2 separate regions of the Homo sapiens genome follow, and region 2 is linked to region 1. Evidence: promoter capture Hi-C in 16 types of primary human blood cells and fetal thymus (Javierre and others, 2016). All regions are on one chromosome and are shown on one strand. The core of a region is centred on a gene start or on the middle of the fragment in contact, and the rest is flanking DNA. Distances in the headings are between cores, read along the strand shown.

Region 1 (3,946 bases), core at 413-2,912:
ACCTAGGATTCTGCCTTAGCCAACCAGTCGGGGGCGGGAGGTGGGCAGGAAATGCAGGAGAAATAAGATTTTGGGGTGAAAACAATGAGCTAGGGTTTGGATTTGCTTGAATTTTCAATGCAGTACTCATATATCTTTCTCACTTTTAAAAGTCTGTGAGGTGGACATGGACTGGCTTCGTCGGTTTGCCAAGGTTTAATTTTGTGCCTTAAATGGGCACTTGAGAGCTTTGTAAAAACCGATGTGTTTGCTGGCCCCGTGTTTACGGGCCTTTGTGATCTCCGCGTTCGCATCCAATCTGGCCCTTGGGCTCCGAGAAGGTACACGTGTGTGTAGGGCAAGGTCCAACCAGTGGGGCCAGGGATCTGAGCAACAAGCGCGCCCTGTGTCCTTTGTGGCAGGGACCGCTTGTGGACGGCGGATGAGGATGAGGCGCCCAGATCTTCCCGAAATATTTCCTAATCGTTCATCATGATGTTATGTTGTTGTTTTCACAAAGGGAATTAATATTGGCCTCCTTTTCTACAAATCTTGCCAACACTGCGTGAAATGTTTTCGTTGCTTCTCTATTCCCAAGGTTTCGTATTATTTTACCAAGTCGGAAAATGGACGGCGCTTAAACTGTTTTTTCCCTGAAAGGAAGAGGGCTGTAATCACTAAAGTGTTTTAAAATCTCCAGCGCAAAAGCCTGCGGTGCCACAGGGACGAGGCCTGGAGAGCAGTCGCTCCTAGAACCGGGGCGCGAAGGGCACCCCCGCCTCCAGCACGCGCCCTCCGCCCTCCCGGCCTCGCTCCCCCCGGAGTGGGGGCCTCGCCGGCCCCTGGTCCCCGTCACTCAGCAACGTCGGGTCAGCCTTCGCCGGGTTAGTGGCGACGCGGCCGCGCGAATTCGCACAGGTATTCCGCGTTTCTCCGCCGTTCCCCGCCTTGGCCGGAGGCTTCCGAGGCGTCCCTTGGTGCAGGGTGGGAAGCGGCCCGCGCCCCAACGGCCCAGGCGCTGGAGCTCACCCCGAGCGAGGGCGGTACCTGAGGCTTCGGGGAGCCCGCGCTGACCGCGGCCCCGTCCCCAGACCCCTCCAGCAACCCCGGCCCCGCCCCAGACCCCTCCGGTGATTTCCCCCCCGGCCCCGCCCCGCAGATCCCTCCAGTGATCTCCCCCCCGCCGCGCCCCCCAGACCCCCCCCCAGTGATTTACCCCCCGGCCCCGCCCCACAGACCCCTCCAGTGGTCCCCCGGCCACGCGGGCTCCGGGGGGGCGGGGCGGGGGCGCGGCCCTTTGCTGGGACAGGGGGCGTGGGCCCGAGTAGCGGGCGGGGGGCGCGGGCCCGGGCTGGGGCGGGGGCGGGGGCGGGGAGCGCGGGAGCCCCGGTGACGCAGCAGTGACGTCGGTGGCAGCGGGCGGGATTTCCCGGGCGAGACCCCGCGGCGGAGTGGGCGCGGCCAGCGTGGAACGGGGGCGAGGGTCGCAGAGTCGCCGGCTCTCCCTTCCCCAGTCTGGGCCCCCACGGCACAGGGGGCCGAGCAGAAGCCCCCAGCGTCCAGGGCCGGGGGAGGGTCCGCCTGCGCCCCCAGGCCCGCGTGGTCGGGCCCTGCAGGGCGGGAGGCGCGGCGCGGGGCGGGGCCGGTGACGGGACGCGGAGACCCCGCGGGCGGCGGGAGGGGCACGAGGCGCGCGTTTGCACCCGAGCCCGGCCCGCGCCCCGATGCGGAGCGATGCCGCTCGGCCTGGCCGCCCCCCGCGAGCACCGCGCTGCAGACGAAGCCCGCGCGTGATCCCGCTCCGGGTAAGTGGGCGCCCGGCCGGAGCCCCGGGTGTCCGCGGGGAGAGCCCAGCCCGGTGCAGCCAGACGCGGAAGGGAAACTCGGGGTGAAAGTCTCCGGACCTAGGGAGACGGCTCTGGCGCCGGTGTGGTCCTCACGCCGCCAGCTGCTGCTGCACGCGACACAAAGACCTGTGGTTCCCTCGGCCTCCTCTCCCGGGACCTCCCGCCGGGCCCCGGGGAAGCCCGCGCGCGGGTGTGGACAGCCCCCTCGGAGCGCGTCCAGGGGCTTCCGGGGCTGGGGGCGCCCGGTCCCTCCGGCATGAGGCAGGCGGGGGCTCGGGGGTCCCCTCTTCCATTTGTAGGTCACAGAGCGTTTGCTGTTTTCCCAGCGGGGACGTCCCCCGTGGAAAAGGACCTCAGTGGCAGGAGATGGCGTGGCTGGTTGGGCGTTTTCTTTGGGGAAATGTTTCTGGCGAGTGCCTGAGGAAGCCCTCCTGGCTCCCCAGCAGCCCAGACGCCGCCTCGGGAGCACTCGGGGTGACGCTGGAGCCACCGCAGCTGAGGGTGGTTTTCCTCACCTCCTTGATGGCGTCTGTCCCCGAGGCTGGTGCTGAACTGAAATGTGCTTCGTTCGCCGCGCGCGCCCGGCAGCAACCGGGGAGCTTTGTTTGGCTTGATTTTTTAAATTGCCTTGGAAATAACGCGAAACGGCGGGAGGGTGAAGTGGGGAGGAGGACAGAGCGTGGTGGGGAAAGACTCCTTAATTTAAGATTTGCTTCATTTCGAGTATTTGGGGCTAAGGTGTTAGGAAACCCGAAAATGTTAAAGTTTGATCAAGTAATAAAGTGGATGATGGACGCCGGGCCTCCCACCGTCTCCCCGGCCCCGCGGCTGCCGCGTCTCTCCTCTACCCGTCGCCTCCCAGGACTGTCAAATGCTGGCACCGGGCCCGTGCCTCTCAGCCGGAGCAAAAGGCCGCCTAGGCTGCGCCCGTGTGCTCCATTAAAACGTGCCAGTCCTGTCGTCTGCTCATGAGTGAGGTGTGCCGCTTCCCACAGTGGACAGGAAATTTGCAGCGGCGAATGCCTCACAGTAGCCATGGGGGACCTGGGCTCTGCGGCCGGCTTCTCGATTCCTCCCGCAACTCCTTTTCCTGATTTTTGTATGAGGCGGGGGAGGGGAACCAGCCGCCATCTGATCTGGCCCTGTTCCCTGCAAGAGGCGACTGGGGGGACAACTAAGTTGATAAATGGAAAGCCTTTTCCAGCCCGGAGAAACAGACAGAGGACCTATAAACTGGATTGTTTTTGAAATGTAGGGTTTGCTCAGTGACCGGTCATGATAAGAGATGGCTGTGGCACTTAATAAATAGTAGGTGTAAATGCAAATGCAAGGTTTACAGTGATGCCTTGCCTGTTAATGAGCAGCCTCACCATGGGGTTAGTTAGGCTGAAATGACTATTTAGGACAATGGACTTCCTGTTGGCCCCCACCTCCATGCACAACTCCAGTGCTCATAGGCCTTAAAATTCGCCCAAGGAAGCCAGTGGAGGATGTAGGCCTGGCTCAGAAACAGCACAGCTAAGGGGCCATTCCCAGCAGTCCTATGATTGGCGTTTCTCATGCAAACTGATGGTGGAGAAACCAGAAAAAAAAAAAGCTTTTCCTAGATTCACTTTACAGTTTTTAAAGCAAAAGTGACAGTCCCTGAAGTCCCCCAATATTCAGTGCATTCTTTGAAATGATAGAACATCAGGTGGGAACATCGCCTGTAATCCCAGCACTTTCAGAGGCCGAGGCAGGCAGATCACTTGAGGTCAGGAGTCCGATACCGGCCTGGCCAACGTGGTGAAACCCCGTATCTACTAAAAATGCAAAAAATTAGGCGGGCGTGGTGGTGCACGCCTGTAATCCCAGCTACTTGGGAGGCTGAGGCACGAGAATCACTTGAACCTGGGAGGCAGAGGTTGCAGTGAGCTGAGATGGTGCCACTGCACTCTGGCCTCAAAATAAATAAACAACATGAGGTGGGAACATGGACCCTGACCCCTGGGGAAGCAAGAGCCACAGCTGTCTCAGGAGGGCAGGAACACTGTAAAATGTGTACAATGCTCCTTCCCCCAAGACCTACACGCCCAAACCCACGCCTACCACAAAACTACTGCTTATGCAGAAAGCAAAGA
Region 2 (3,946 bases), core at 427-2,926, 370 kb before region 1:
TTTTTATTGTTTTTGAGACAGGGTCTCACTCTGTTGCCCAGGCTGAAGTGCAGTGGCACAATCTTGGCTCACTCCAGCCTCAACCTCCTGGGCTCAGGTGATCCTCCCACCTCAGCCTCCTGAATAGCTGGGACTACAAGTGTGCCACCATGCCTGGCTAATTTTGTATTTTTTGTAGAGATGGGGTTTTTCCATGTTGCCCAGGCTGGTCTCAAACTCCTGGGCTCAAGCAATCCACTTGCCTTGGCCTCGCAACGCTCTTTTCTTGTAGACAAGAAAACTGAGGCTCATTAAAGTGAGCCGTGACAAATATAGTATTTGAACACAAGTCTCTGACTCAAGCATCGTATTACTCCATCTTCTAGTTGCAGTTATTTTATTATTTATAACTTAAGTTCAAATACTTTCATGTAGGCAGCTTGATATTTGTTTGTTACTAAATTGTAATCTACTGCCAAGGGGAAGTCAGTCCACTACTAAGGGCAAGAATGCCAAGTGCTTCGAGCAGTGCTGTTTAAGTCTGCAATTAGTGAGAGGGCTCACTAATGAGCATAAGGAATGCTAGAAGTAAGCTTCCCTGGTGGGATGAATAGTGTGTTCACATATGGTTGGCCAGGAAAATGAACAGCTCCCTCTACCCCTGCTTGACAGAGATATAAGAATCTGGCAAGCCCAGCAGTCTCAGAATTCGGGAATCATGCCTGAGGTCTGGAATCCAGCAGCCGCAGCTAATGGCAGATTTGGTGTGCTGATGTAACATGAAGGTTAGAAGATCCTGCTGTCAGGGCCTCGCGGTGTTGGCTTCATAGTGAACCTTTCATGCAAGGTGCCTGTCAGGGTGTCTGAAATACTGGAGGGCAGGAACTTGTGCGCATAGTGCAGGCTGTATGTTTGGCCAGCTTGCTGATAGCTTTGTATATGTGGTAGAATTCAGTCTGGGACTTACCTTCCTGGTAACGTATCGCTAGGGAGGGGACATAGTGCCTACTCACCTGCAATCGTCAGTTTCCCAGTATTTCCTGCAAAGAGCCTGACAGCCTTGAATGGCTGAATTGGCTCTGGCCAGTTCAAAGCAGCATGATGCTGTGTGTGTGTGTGTGAACGGGAGCCCTCCCAGGCTGTGAGACGGCTGGCATGCGGGGATGGGGCTCCTTCACCGATCCATGCCTCCTCATTACACAGCTCTGCTTCAACTTCGTAAGCCTCCTGGATAGTAATAAGGTGCAGAAGTAACCCAGTCTGCTGCTGTTGAACTGTGACCTCGTGGCTAATTCTGCCCTTGGTGCCTGAGCTTGCCACAGTGGGAGTGCTTCACTTCAGAAGGCACAACCAGCCATCCTTTATGTAATCTGCACCATCCTAGAAAATCCTCCGATATCCTTGTCCAGAAAGACAGGTGGTCGCATGTAGACTTGCTTTTGTCCTGTGGTGAGTGGTTGTTCTGACTTATTACCTCCGTGGAATGCGAGTGTATTCCCAGTCAGGACACTTATTGTTCTGGGTCACTAGAACATGCCTTGAAGTGTTAATGTATCGAGACATGAGGCTTAAAATAGGAAATTGCATTAAGCAGATCACTTCATGTGTTATTTGGACTTGGGAAGTGCGTTAGAGGAGAATGAGGATGAGCCTTTGTGATTCAGTGTGTGCAGCGCTGATATGATGGTATATGACACCCCAAACAAGGGTGGTTTTGGTGAGACGTCGCACAGTGACTCTCCACAGTAATTTGGAGACGATTTCACAGAGCTCTGTGATTCACTCTGGTCCATGGCAGGATGGCTCCCGCTGTTTCTCAATTTAGAGCCCGTAGAGATAGTTTTGGCTCATCTCTCATTGAGTAATCGTCGAGTATGTAGAAGGCATTTAGCAAATTGGTAATGAGACTCTTCTCCTCTAAGAGCCTGGCCTTTATAAAAGGGAAAAATTGGAGAAACTTAGAGTTGTTGAAAATATGTGAAAAGTAGCCACTCTGAAAAAAGTCAAAAAGGAGGCAGCAATGACAAGAATGATCCAGGATTTTCCTATTGAGTTAGAAAGTGATCCTGTGAAAGGAAATCTCTTTCCAGAGAAGAGGTTGACCAGATGTTAAATAATAAGAATAATCATTTTCTAGCAGATACTGTGGTATGTTATGAGAGACAGTTATTGCCAGTTTTCAATACCACTGAAGAAAGGGTTAAGGACCTGGCTTCAATTTATAGAAAAGAAGTTTGTTTTTGTTTTTTTTTTTTTTTTTTTTTTAAGGCAGAGTCTTGCTCTGTCGCCCAGGCAGGAGTACAATGGCGCAATTTCGGCTCACTGCAACCTCCACCCCCTGGGTTCAAGCAATTCTCCTGCCTCAGCCTCCCGGATTGCCGGAATTACAGGCACATGCTGCCTGGCTAATTTTTGTATTTTTAGTAGAGATGGGGTTTCACCATGTTGGTCAGGCTGGTCTCGAACTCCTAACCTCAGGTGATCTGCCTGCCTCAGCCTCCCAGAGTGCTGGGGTTACAGGCCTGAGCCACCGTGCCTGGTCCTAGAAGAGAAGATTTAAATTATACATTAGGAAGAATTTCCAAACTGCAAAGACCGTGGACTATTAGCTCAGAAATTGCTAGGGTCTTGTCCCTTAAGAAAGGGTGTTGTCTAGTCTGGCGTGTATGTGTAAGCCGGCATGGAGGTGGAGGTTGTGCTAGGGAACCATTCCCTCCATCATCCCAGCAGCCCTGAGGTCCTATTTGTCAATAGCTTTTCAGGTAGGGCTAGAGAGAAGAGCCTGGTCACATAGAAGCTTTTCCAAAACACAGCTTCCCCTTGCGTAAATGTTCCCAGGGAGGAACAGAGCTTGAAGAAGATCCCCTGTGATTTTGCTCTGTCTTCTTGATTGAAAACTGCTGCTCTGTGCTCTCGTGCTTTGGCAATGCAGTCTAAGTCACTGAGCCCTGCAATATGTACAATGTTTCCAGACATCTGTGCTGGGAGTGTCCTCTGAGAGTTGCAGCACAGAGGCAGTGGACACAGGAAGCCCCTTTTTTCTCCCATGTTGCAGCGGCAGCTGATGGATGGAGCTGTGAAGTCCAAACGTGCTGGGTGCACTCCTCCCCCACAGCCTCCCCAGCTCCAGCTTGCATAACAGCCTGCTTTGGGAGGGGCTTTGTTCCAGAACCTTCTGGCAGTGCCTGGTTCAGTCCTGAGACCTTGTGTCTTAAACACGTCACAGAACACGCACATATCAGTATAATCTCTAAAAGTTGAAGAGCATTTGGTTTGGGTATTTGCCTGGGTACAGGACAAACTATGAGGCTGATGTGATCAAGAATGCTTGTCTTGTGCAATGTTGACCAATAGGCCAGTAGGACATTTGTCTCACCAATAAAGGCCTGGCTAGACTGGACATTGAAGGTGGACATAGGAGGCTTTGACTCCCACATGTCAACGATTCATATGAAAGCGCTGGGGAAGAGATTTATGAGGGGGAGAAGAGCTGTGTGGTCTCGGCCATTATGAGAAACATGTCTTATTTGTTTTAGGTCTAAAACATGTCTAAATTTGTTTTAGGCTAGGGGCTGTGGCTCACGCCTGTAATCCCAGCACTTTGGGAGGCCCTCCTCATGCACATCTCAGGGTTTTAGAAATGCCAGAAGTAGCTGTCTACACTCTGAGTATGAGGTTGACGTGGGAAGGACCTTGTGTAACTGTTCATTTCAACCCATCAGTGGCCACATAACCAGGGGGAATGACAGGTTAGCTCAGTTTCTTGCCTGGGCCCACCAGCCTTACACAAGTGGTAGCCACAGCCTGGCCCCCAAAGCCTGGCGGCCATCTGAGGGGCGTGTTCCCAGAGTTAGCCAAATTCATCACCATGGCTGGGGTGTTGGATGAATCTCTAGTTAGTATAATCATAGCTGGGTGTCTGGAACATTGTTGGGTGCTTCTCTGACCTCCATCCATTTTCCGTAAT

The links. The method cuts DNA at HindIII sites, captures the fragments that hold promoters and counts their contacts. A CHiCAGO score of 5 or more calls a contact.
Region 2: a contact is called between a fragment that was not itself captured here and the fragment with the promoter of GNG4 in region 1, in 1 of 17 cell types (neutrophils). The highest score is 5.5, in neutrophils.

What each region holds. Positions count from the first base shown.
Region 1 is chr1:235,647,500-235,651,445 of GRCh38, reverse strand. It overlaps GNG4 (G protein subunit gamma 4), which reads left to right and starts at 1,662. Exons shown (of 4, transcript NM_001098722.2): 1 at 1,662-1,784. RefSeq lists enhancers at 1-697, 3,163-3,457 and a silencer at 1,688-1,797. The HindIII fragment of the contact is 10,274 bases long and covers 1-3,425 here.
Region 2 is chr1:236,018,335-236,022,280 of GRCh38, reverse strand. The region is part of intron 9 of NID1 (nidogen 1); the gene reads left to right. Among named protein-coding and RNA genes, the nearest start is that of NID1, 45 kb to the left of the region's middle. The HindIII fragment of the contact is 2,204 bases long and covers 575-2,778 here.